Linked DNA regions of Homo sapiens: all the other regions are linked to region 3. The links are contacts of gene promoters, found by promoter capture Hi-C in blood cells and fetal thymus (Javierre and others, 2016). All regions are on one chromosome and are shown on one strand. Each heading gives the region's core, a stretch centred on a gene start or on the middle of the fragment in contact. The rest is flanking DNA. Distances are from core to core; before and after follow the strand shown.

Region 1 (2,700 bases), core at 188-2,687, 340 kb before region 3:
ACGATCTCGCCACTGAACTCCAGCCTGGGATACAGGGCAACACCATGTCTCAAAAAAATAAATTAATAAAATAAAACAGAAATACAACATACAGAAATAACTGCAAATGTATTAAAGCTATGTGTAAAAGGATATTCCCGGAACACTGTTTATAATTGCAAAATGTTAAAAACTAAGTTTCTACTAATAAGAAACTCATTAAATTAACTGAGGCAGATTGTACACGGAATACTGTACAAAGATAAGATGTCTATAAGATGTCTCTAAGTTACAGACTATACGTAGAATCCCACTTTGTTCAAAACACAAAGCAATGTGCACACACTTGCCTACAGACACATCTTTCCACAGCAGAGGAAAAGTCCTAGGGCAGCTCTTTCTCAAACCAAGTGGGCATCAGGGAGGTTGAAAAAGAGAGGAGGATCTCTGCCTTCTTATTCTATATAATTTTTCTAAGTGACAGGATTATGAGTGCTATTTACTTTTAAAATATTTTTCCATAATTTTCAGATAGTATTTTCAAAATTATTACAGGAATAGGTGTCTATTTCTACTCACCACTGTATCCTTAATGCCTAAGCACCACTCAACACCGGGCGTCAATAGATAATGAAAATGTGTTGAATAAATGAATGAAAGTTATTTCTGTGCAAAGGAAAATTCTGTAATAGCTTATACTTCAGTAATATGATTCCTCATTTGCCGTGACTACATTACATGCTAATAATCAGGGTCACTTACGTGATTCAGAAAATACTGCACGATTATCTCATGGCCAGCAGCAGCTGCTTCCATCAAGGGAGTAAATCCACATATCGGCTCCCTGCAAGATGTGGGCCACAGTCAGATGATTGGAAGAGACAAGTTCCGCCAGGCAAAAACTCCCTGCTGAAGATAAACCCTGAGCAGTGCACGAGTCACCGATCCCTAAGCGTAGAACACTGTCCCTTTCCAGAATTAACAGGTGACATGAGAACAGTGAATATAACACATCAGCTCCATTTACTCTTCTGGTGTCTGTCCCCAGGGCTGGTCTTTGTCCTAAAGACAGATGTCTGCCTGTCGTCCCACCTGTTGGCTATTCCCACTGGCTACCTCTGAAATCTCCACCTCAATCATATTCAAAAAGCTGTTCTAATTCCTCACAGAAAGCCAGCATCTCCCATCCATTCATCCAAATCCTGGCTTCAAGTTCAACGTCCTCCATGAACCCACTCTGAAAAGTTCAAGTACTAATGATCTAAGCTATCTTTGCCACGCTTAGCTCCTGAAGCTTGCTTTTCATGCTTGGTTATGCTAACTCGGCACTGTCTTCAGAGGGCTTCCAAATCCCTCCTTGTCTCATGCTGGTTTGGAAGTCAGGAACCATGCATGGGAAATGCTGGTTTTCATCCATCTTAAGACACACAGTGTTCATATTTTAACATCTCTCAAGTCAGAAAACATCTTTAAATCAACAGGCGAGTTGAATGTTAATTAGTAGCATATTTTTTCTTTCTTAGTGGCATACAAAATTATCAGGTGTCTTAGAATGAATGACAGCCAGGGTGGGTGCTGCATTGGTACCCGCTGCGTTTGTTCAAAGGTGATTATTATCATGACAAGCTTTAGACAACAATCCCACTTCCAACTTATAAAACTCATGACTGGTTTTTTGTTTGTTTTTGAGACAGAGTTTTGCTCTTGTTGCTCAGGCTGGAGTGCAGTGGCACGATCTCTCAGTTCACTGCAACCTCTGCCTTCTGGTTTCAAGTGATTCTCCCGCCTCAGACTCCCGAGTAGCTGGGATTACAGGCACCTGCCACCACGCCCAGCTAATTTTTGTATTTTTAGTAGAGACGGGGTTTCACCATGTTGGCCAGACTGGTCTCGAACTCCTGACCTCATGATCTGCCCGCCTTGGCCTCCCAGAGTGCTAGGATTACAGGTGTGAGCCACTGAGCCCGGCCAAAACTCATGACTGTTGTTTTTGTTTTTTTTTTTTTGAGATGGAGTCTTGCTCTGTCACCCAGGCTGGAGTGCAGTGGTGCAATCTCGGCTCACTGCAAGCTCCACCTCCCGGGTTCACACCATTCTCTTGCCTCAGCCTCCCGAGTAGCTGGGACTACAGGCGCCCGTCACCATGCCCAGCTAATTTTTTCGTATTTTTAGTAGAGATGGGGTTTCACCATGTTAGCCAGGATGGTCTCGATCTCCTGACCTCGTGATCTGCCTACCTCGGCCTCCCAAAGAGCTGGGATCACAGGCGTGAGCCACCACGCCCGGCCTCATGACTGTTTCAAAGCATCACCTCACCTCATCCATACAAAAAGCAAGAAAATGGAAGGAATTTGCATGTAATGTATGACATTTAAATGCCATTCAGTATGTTAGGCCCCTGGCATACAATAAAACATGTAATTCTTACAACTGTATGACCCAGGTGGGTTTCAGATAAAGAAAAGGAAGCTGAGAGGGCTTGAAGAGATGCATCTCACAGATGTACGAAAAGGCCTGTGCCTGGAAGGACTCTGGTCCTACCCCTCATCTTGAGCCTCTCGTGCCGAAGCAGGGTGGCCCTAAACTCTGGTTAGCTGCCTCCAGAGCCACCCTCCTTAGAGTCAGATGACACCTAGGCCACTCCTGTGGCCACTAAAGATGTGGCAATCACCTCACGTTGGCATTGGCTCCACTGTCCAAGAGGAACCTGACCATGTGCTG
Region 2 (2,700 bases), core at 201-2,700, 270 kb before region 3:
GGAGTATGCCACCGCACCCAGCCAATTTATTTTTTTTGAGATAGTCTTGCTCTGTCACCCAGGCGGGTGTGCGGTGACATGATCTTGGCTCACTACAGGCTCCGCCTCCTGGGTTCAAGCGATTCTCCTGCCTCAGCCTCCCAAGTAGCTGGGATTACAGGTGCCCGCCACCACAGCGGGGTAATTTTTGTATTATTATTATTTTTTGAGATGGAGTCTTGCTCTGTCACCCAGGCTGGAGTGCAGTGGCGAGATCTCGGCTCACTGCAATCTCTGCCTCCAGGGTTCAAGCAATTCTCCTGCCTCAGCCTCCTGAGTAGTTGGGACTATAGGCGCGTGCCACCATGGCCGGCTAATTTTTTGTATTTTTAGTAGAGATGGGGTTTTACCGTGTTACCCAGGATGGTCTTGATCTCCTGACCTTGTGATCCGCCTGCCTCGGCCTCCCAAAGTGCTGGGATTACAGGCATGAGCCACCACACCCGACCAATTTTTGTATTTTTATCTTTTTTTTTTTTTGAGATGGAGTTTTGCTCTTGTTGCCCAGGCTGGAGTGCAATGGCGTGATCTCGGCTCACCACAACCTCTGCCTCCCGGGTTCAAGTGATTCTCCTGCCTCAGCCTCCCTAGTAGCTGGGATTACAGGAATGTGCCACCACGCCTGGCTAATTTTGTATTTTTAGTAGAGACATGGTTTCTCCACGTTGGTCAGTCAGGCTGGTCTCAAACTTCTGGCCTCAGCTGACCCGCCTCTGCCTCCCAAAGTGCTGGGATTACAGGCGTGAGCCACTGCGCCCGGCCCAATTTTTGTATTTTTAGTAGAGGTGGGGTTTCGCCATGTTGGCCAGGACGGTCTCAAGCTCCTGATCTAAGTAAGTGATCTGCCCAACTTGGCCTTCCAAAGTGGTGGGATTACAGGTGTGAGCCACCAGGCCAGGCCAAATATATTAAGTATTATAAGTAATCCAGAGATGATTTAAAGTATAGAGTATATGCACAGGTTATATGCAAATACTGCCTCATTTTATATCAGGGAGTTTATAGCATCTGTGGATTTTGGTACCCACGGAGGTGCTGGAACCAATCGTTGAGGATTCCAAGGACAACTCTATGATGCAGGCACACCTGTCCTAGCTGCTCAAGGGTCGTGGGATGCAGGTAGGTTTTCTCCCCCTTCCCCCTCCCTCCCACCCACCTTCTCTCCCATCTCTCTCTCTTTCATTCACGAAGTCAGCAGTGGCCAAGCACACAGGTGTTCCCAGCTGCATATCTGGGATACTGAGGAAAGGTAAGAAGTCTCAGGAGTGAAGAAGCCACAGGCCGGCGTCTTCCTCCCTGGGCCTCCAGCAGTGGGGAGCCAGGGAGCGCACCTGCTGGGCCTGGGCCCTCTCCCCTGGGCTGGGCGGCCTCTGCTGGCCCTGGGGAGGGCGGGGCTGGTTGCCAAGGCCTCAGGTGGTGTGGAGCCGGAAGCAGGAAGCAGCCTGTGCTCCCCAGGACCTGCCTGGTTGGGGGAATTGGAGGCTTCTAGGAGGTAGGTGGGGGCCTGGGGGCTGGGCTGCCAGGGGGAGAGAGAGGGGAGATGACAGTGGCTGGGGAGAAGGTTGTCAGGGTAAGGACCACAGGGCTGGGCAAGGAGAGAAGCTGGGCCTGGGGCCGAGGGAGAAGTGGAGTGGGAGGGGGTGGGGAAGCTGGCGCTGGGCCAGGAGCGGGCAGTGGCTGGGCTGTGGGAAGCCTGGATGTGGTCCCCGCTGAGCTGAGCCCAGGATCCTGATGCAGCCTCTGGGGGACCGGGGCAGGTGGCACGGTGCACGCCAAGATGGCTGTGTCCACAGAGGAGCTGGAGGCCACGGTTCAGGAAGTCCTGGGGAGACTGAAGAGCCACCAGTTTTTCCAGTCCACATGGGACACTGTTGCCTTCATTGTTTTCCTCACCTTCATGGGTAAGTGTGGCTGTGGCCTCTGGGTCCTCCCAGCCCCCTGCCCTGGGCTCCAGGTTGGGGCCACACCTGGACGCCTGTCCTGTCCCCAGGCACCGTGCTGCTCCTGCTGCTGCTGGTCGTCGCCCACTGCTGCTGCTGCAGCTCCCCCGGGCCCCGCAGGGAAAGCCCCAGGAAGGTGAGCCCCTGGAAGGTGAGCCCTGCCGGCCTCTGGGACCTGCACGGAACTGTACTGGGGGTGGAGGCGGAAGGTGAGGGGAGTGGCGGGAAGGGTGCTCATCCCCCTAGGGAACAACGAGCGAACCTGCTTGGTCCCGCTGTGCTTCTCGTGCAGGAAAGACCCAAGGGAGTGGATAACTTGGCCCTGGAACCCTGACCCTGTGTCTCCTGCCCGGTGGCAGTAACAAAGCCTTCTGTCTGCCCAGAGCCTGAGTCTGCAGTGTCTTCCAGTCCCCGTCTGGGTGGGTGACGCGGGACTCGCCGCCCCACTCAGGTGGCCACCTGGCCTCTCCAAGCCTTCAGTCAGCACGACTGTGCCAGGTCATCCTCAGTCACCTAGCTGGGAGGGGAGCTGGTCTCAGGCCGGGCGCGGTGGCTCACACCTATAATCCCAGCACTTTGGGAGGCCGAGGTGGGCGGATCACGAGGTCAGGAGATCGAGAACATCCTGGTTAACGTGGTGAATCCCCGTCTCTACTAAAAATACAAAAAATTAGCCGGGCGTGGTGGCGGGCACCTGTAGTCCCAGCTACTCGGGAGGCTG
Region 3 (2,700 bases), core at 99-2,598:
TCTAGGCACTGGCACTGCCTTTGCTCCCTTCTGGGCACAGTTCACGGGTGTGGTTGTATTAAGCACTGAATTCCTAGGGAATCTGTTATGGAGCAAGATTATTGAGAGGAGAAGGGGCAGTGGATGTGGGATGTGGCGTGGGTGGAGAAGCCGGGCTCACTGCAGCTGCCAAGGAGTGGGGACCCTGGTCTGAGGCTGTTAGGTGGGGCCGCTTTCCCAGTGAATGCTGCCCAGTCATGATTAAGAGAACCCCCTCCCTTCTTTGCTAAAAGAGGATAATAATAATGGGTGTAACCTCAGGGATGACGGGGAGAGGGCACTGAAGTACCCCATGCAATGCACCTGGGTTGTGCCCACATTGAGCAGATACTTAGTGAACTACAGCTTTTGCTATCACATGCGCCCCAGGAAGCACCCAGCCCTGTGGGAGCCACCTGTGTGCTTGTGTGTGTGTGTGATATGCTTGTGTGCATGCGTGCATGCGTGCTTGTGTGTGTGATGTGCATGTGTGTGTGCGTGCGTGCATGTGTGCTTGTGTGTGTGTGCATGATGTGCGCATGTGTGTGTTTACCTTGGCCTGTCTCCAGCCCCCTTCTTGGGGATCTTATAGCTCTCAAAGCTAAACAAACACTTGACTGTTTTTGCAGAACCTTCAGGAGACTTTGGCTGCAAGTGGAGGAAGTGGGGTGGGAACCCGATCTTGAGGGTCCTCAGTTTTGTCCACAGCCACCTCATTCAAGGGGAGGGGTCTTCCCACAAATATCTGTTAACGGGGCACTCTCCCTGCTCCCCTTGTTCGTGGCGTTGTGAGGAGGGGCTGTCAAATGGATCATTTCATTCTGAGAAAAAGATAATTCCCAAATCCCTTCCCATGTTGCCTTTAAATCTTTCCTACTTCTAAAAAATTGCGTAACAGTTAGCTGGGCCACAGCCGCCAGGAAGATCCAGCCCCTGGCCTCCTCTCTCCTTATAGCCGAGGCAGGCTATACTGGGGCCAGGAGTCTGCCAGGTCCCAGGCGTACAGAGCAGGGCAGGGGACAAAGCTGAGAGCTAGCTTCCCAGTGTCCAGCCAGAGGAATTGGGGCTCACTCACCTTCCAGCACTCGGACCCCCACCATGCCATCCAGGTTGATTTCAGGCAGCCTCTGTTCTAGGAAGACGGTGGCTCTCTCCAGCGCAGACAGGATCAGGTCTGCAATGGTGGCTTTACTTTCAGCAGTGTCCAGCCCAGGCAGTGAGGAGGACCACAGCGGTGGCAGTGCTGTCAGTAAGAGCAGGAGCAGCAGCCCCAGGCTGGCCATGGCCGGCCTCTGCTCACTGCTGGTCACACGCTCAGCACCCTGAGCTCTGGCCAAGCCCAGACTGCCTCTGCACGCCCTCCTCCCACCTCCTTCCCACCTCCCCCTGGCAGACATGAAGACAAGTGGCCCGGCAGGGCTGCCAAGAAGCCTGGGGTGGCCTGGGCAAAGGACTCTGGGAAGGGTGGCTGCAGGGGGATGACGGTTAGGCAGCGGAGGTTAGGCCAGTCCTGGGCGTAGAGCCTGCTGTCCACGGGATGCTGGGGAGAGGGCTGCCCGCCCTGTCCTTCTCAGCCCTGATTCTCCAGGCTCACAGGCTAGATCTTTGATCTAGCAATTGCAATTCAACCCAGAAATCCAAAAGCTCTGAAAGCAAAACGAATTTTTTTTTCTTTGTTTTTTGAAATAGGGTCTCATTCTCTTGCCTAGGCTGGAGTGCAGTGGTTTGATCACAGCTCACTGTAGCCTTGACCTCCTGGGCTCAATAGATCCTCTTGCCTCAGCCTCCTGAATAGCTGGGACAATCGGCATGTGCCACCATGTTGCCTAATTTTTGTAGCTTTTTTTAATAGAGACAGGGTCTCACTATGTTGATCAGGCTGGTCTTGAACCGCTGGCCTCAAGCGAGCCACCTTCTTTGGGCTCCCAAAGTGCTGGGATTACAGGCTGGAGCCACCACACCCAGGCTTTGTTTTAAATAAATTTGAAACAAACTCATTTGAGGGCACGTCTGCCTTGAACTGAGGCAAACTTCCTTAAAGGGGCACCGTCCAATTGAAATAGAATTGGAGCTACAAAGATGAGCCATGTGTGCATTTCGAAATTTCCTAGTAGCCACATCTAAGAAAGCAGCAATAAGCAGGTGAAGTTAATTTTAACGATCTAGTTTATTTGACCCAGTTATTTAAAATATTATAATTACATCTGTAATCAATATAGAAATGATTTGTTTTTATTTTTGTCATACTAAGTCTTTGAAATTGATGAGTAGTTTATGTTCACAACACAATTGTTTTATTTTGTTATTTTATTTTTAAGAGACAGGGTCTCATTCTGTTGCCCAGGCTGGAGTGCAGTGATGTGGTCATAGTTCACTGCAGTCTCGAGCTCCTAGGCTCAAGGGACCCTCGCGCTTTAGCCTCCCAAGGAGCTGGCACTCCAGATGTAAGCCACCATGCCAGGCTAAGCACATTTCAATTCAGACTATCCATATTTCAGGGGCTTGATAGTCACATGTAGCTGGTATACTGGGCAGTGTCTTAGTTTTGTGCTACTACAACAGAATACCTGAGACTGAGTAATTTATAAAGAAAAGAAATTCATTTGGCTCATAGTTCTGGAGGCTGGGAAGTCCAGGTTCAAGGGGTTGCATCTGGTGGGGGTCTTCTTGCTATATCATCCC
Region 4 (2,700 bases), core at 62-2,561, 410 kb before region 3:
ACCAGAAGCTCTCCTGAAAACCCCATTTCAGGGCCTTTTCTGGAGGCTTCATCACGTAGGCAGGATTGATGATTAACTCCATCTCCAGCCCCTGTCCCCTCCCTGGAGGATGGGGCTGGGCTGAAATTCAGTTCCAGGTTTTTGTTTTGTTTTTGTTTTGTTTTGTTTTGAGACGAAGCCTCACTCTGCTGCCCAGGCTGGCGTGCAGTGGCACAATCTTGGCTCACTGCAACCTCCGCCTCCCGAGTTGAAGCAATTCTCCTGCCTCAGCCTCCTGAGTAGCTGGGACTACAGGCACGTGCCACCACGCTTGGCTAATTTTTGTATTTTTAGTAGAGATGGGGGTTTCGCCATGTTGGCCAGGATGGTCTCAATCTCTTGACCTCATGATCTGTCCATCTCAGCCTCCCAAAGTGGTTTTTGTTTGTTTTTGAGACAGAGTTTCGCTCTTGTTGCCCAGGCTGGAGTGCAATGGTGTGATCTTGGCTCACTGCAACCTCCGCCTCCTAGGTTCAAGTGCTTCTCCTGCCTCAGCCTCCCGAGTAGCTGGGATTACAGGCATATGCTACCATGCCTGGCTAATTTTGTATTTTTAGTAGAGACGGGGTTTCATCATGTTGGTCAGGCTGGTCTCAATCGCTCGACCTCAGGTGATCCACCTGCCTCGGCCTCCCAAAGTGCTGAGATTACAGCCGTGAGCCCCCATGCCCGGCCCACCTGGCCCAGGTTTTTGTTTGTTTTTCCTCGGGAGCTCTTAGACGACACTTCCAAGTCTCTAATCATGGCTTGGTCTTTCTGGCAGCCAGCCACCTCCAGGAGCCAAGAGTCACCTCACTGGCACATAAGACACTCCTACCACCCGGGAAATTCCAAGGGTTTGGAGTTCTGTGTTGGGAGCAAAGGTCAAGGAACAAATATTAGAACAAAAGAGGCTCCTAGCACCCCTGTTGCTGAGGAAATGACAAGGGTTTTAGAGGACTCTGTGTCAGGAACTGGGGCTGGGACCAAATATTTATTTTTTATTGTGTCATAATTAGATATTTGTACTTTCAGAGGTTTTATTTGAGATAAGGGTCCTTCTGGCCCTGAAAGTTTGAAAACTGCAACTTCAGCAGGAGCTGGCAGGACTGCCTCCAGGCTACAAGGGCACATGTGCCCCAAGTGGCTTTAGAGACAGGCAAGAGCGTGCCCCCTGCCTTCCTGCACTGGAGCACACCGCTCAGTGGTCAGCTTTGCATCTGGGGATAGGGTGTGGTTGAGAGCCTAGGCTTTGAATGCTGTCCCCGCTGAGTGGCTTGGGGGCACATGACTGCTTGTGCCTCTGTGTCCTCAGCTGGAAGTTCGGGTGGGTGGTGTGAGGAGGGGACCATGTGTCCTGTGCACAGCCCCTCGCGTGACAGGTGCTCTTGAAAGGAGCCTGAGTGCTCGAGTTGAGGGGCTGGTGGAGACGACTTATGTGGGGAGGTTCTTAGGGACCTGCCACCAGGTGAGGCCGCCCTTGGGCTCTGGCCTTGGGCTCCCCGGCAGCCAGGGCTCCTCCTGTGGAGCAGCACTTTGGGGAGGAACAGGTTCCTTTTTCTAGACTTTGTTCTTTGAGGCTCTACCTTGCCCCGGCACTTGATTATATTTCTTTAATGACACTAGTAATGCATGCCTGTGTGCTATGACAGGCGTCGAATTCTTGGGCGTAGGAGCATTTGGAGTGACCAGGGCAGGCCCCTCTGTCCCCTCCTTGCACCCCACTGCTTGGGGTTGAGTGTTTGACACCCACGGGGCCTGGTGCCCTCCTCGGGCCTGGCCGACATGGTGGAGGAGCTGGGTTGTGGCGAGGTGTCCAGGGGCTGCCACAGAGAGGGTGTGGGCTGAGGACACAGGCCAGTGTAAGTTGTCTATCCGCTGCCCCCCAGTGCTCCAGCTGTCAGGGGCTGGGTGACCATCTCAAGTGCACTTGAAGAGAGGGTCCCGCTGCTACCAGAAAGGCTAGAGAGAGCAGAGAGGGTGCCCTGCCAGCCCTGGCTGGTGTCACCCTCTCCTAGACCCCTGCGGGCTAGTGATGAGAGAAATGCCACAGTCCCCCCCTCTCAGGACCTGGCACAAGGCCAGCTTCCCCTCCCAGCAGGAATCACAGAGCAGGAACAGCTCCAGTGCCACTGTCCCCCTCTGTCAGGACCTGGTACGAGGCCTGCTTCCCCTCCCAGCGGGGATCACAGAGCAGGAACAGCTCCAGTGCCACTGTCCCCCTCTCTCAGGACCTGGTACGAGGCCTGCTTCCCCTCCCAGCAGGCATCACAGAGCAGGAACAGCTCCAGTGCCACTGTCCCCCTCTCTCAGGACGCGGTGCAAGGCCAGCTTCCCCTCCCAGCAGGGATCACAGAAAAGGACCTGGAGGCTCCAGGACCTGGAGGCTGTGCCCAGGCACCCGGACACCATCCAGCCTGCCAGTGCTCCATCCATTTGAGCTGCAGGGCAAGCCACCCTCCCTGCCTCCTGACAAGGAAACTGAGGCTCAGACAGAGGGGTGTGTCCAGGCCTCCGCATCTCACAGGAGAAGGCTGGGGTCCACCTGAGGGTGGCGTCTTAACTGTGCCTTTTACTGAGGCTGAGCCCGGGCCTCCCCTGTAGTGCCTCCAACCATGCTGGGCTCTGGCGGCCATGGCAGGCCTCTTCTGCCTTTGTGTGTACAGTGGTGGCCCCCCCACG

What was found. Contacts are between HindIII fragments. The CHiCAGO score rates a contact against its expected background, and 5 or more counts as called.
Region 1: a contact is called between a fragment that was not itself captured here and the fragment with the promoter of C16orf89 in region 3, in 1 of 17 cell types (M2 macrophages). The highest score is 5.3, in M2 macrophages.
Region 2: the fragment with the promoter of SMIM22 here is called in contact with the fragment with the promoter of C16orf89 in region 3 in 1 of 17 cell types (M2 macrophages); the score reaches 7.8 in M2 macrophages.
Region 4: a fragment that was not itself captured here is called in contact with the fragment with the promoter of C16orf89 in region 3 in 1 of 17 cell types (erythroblasts); the score reaches 5.3 in erythroblasts.

Annotation. Positions count from the first base shown.
Region 1 is chr16:4,724,009-4,726,708 of GRCh38, forward strand. It overlaps ANKS3 (ankyrin repeat and sterile alpha motif domain containing 3), which reads right to left. Exons shown (of 18, transcript NM_133450.4): 5 at 2,651-2,700; 6 at 742-823. Among named protein-coding and RNA genes, the nearest start is that of ANKS3, 8.9 kb to the right of the region's middle. The HindIII fragment of the contact is 332 bases long and covers 1,272-1,603 here.
Region 2 is chr16:4,793,919-4,796,618 of GRCh38, forward strand. It overlaps SMIM22 (small integral membrane protein 22), which reads left to right and starts at 1,451. Exons shown (of 4, transcript NM_001253794.2): 1 at 1,451-1,531; 2 at 1,797-1,940; 3 at 2,030-2,130; 4 at 2,272-2,573. The coding sequence starts at 1,817. The coding sequence ends at 2,313. The HindIII fragment of the contact is 14,181 bases long and covers 1-2,700 here.
Region 3 is chr16:5,064,608-5,067,307 of GRCh38, forward strand. It overlaps C16orf89 (chromosome 16 open reading frame 89), which reads right to left and starts at 1,349. Exons shown (of 8, transcript NM_001098514.3): 1 at 1,094-1,349. The coding sequence starts at 1,301. The HindIII fragment of the contact is 15,659 bases long and covers 1-2,700 here.
Region 4 is chr16:4,653,338-4,656,037 of GRCh38, forward strand. The region is part of intron 4 of MGRN1 (mahogunin ring finger 1); the gene reads left to right. Among named protein-coding and RNA genes, the nearest start is that of MIR6769A, 17 kb to the right of the region's middle. RefSeq lists enhancers at 809-1,310, 1,311-1,810. The HindIII fragment of the contact is 6,090 bases long and covers 1-2,700 here.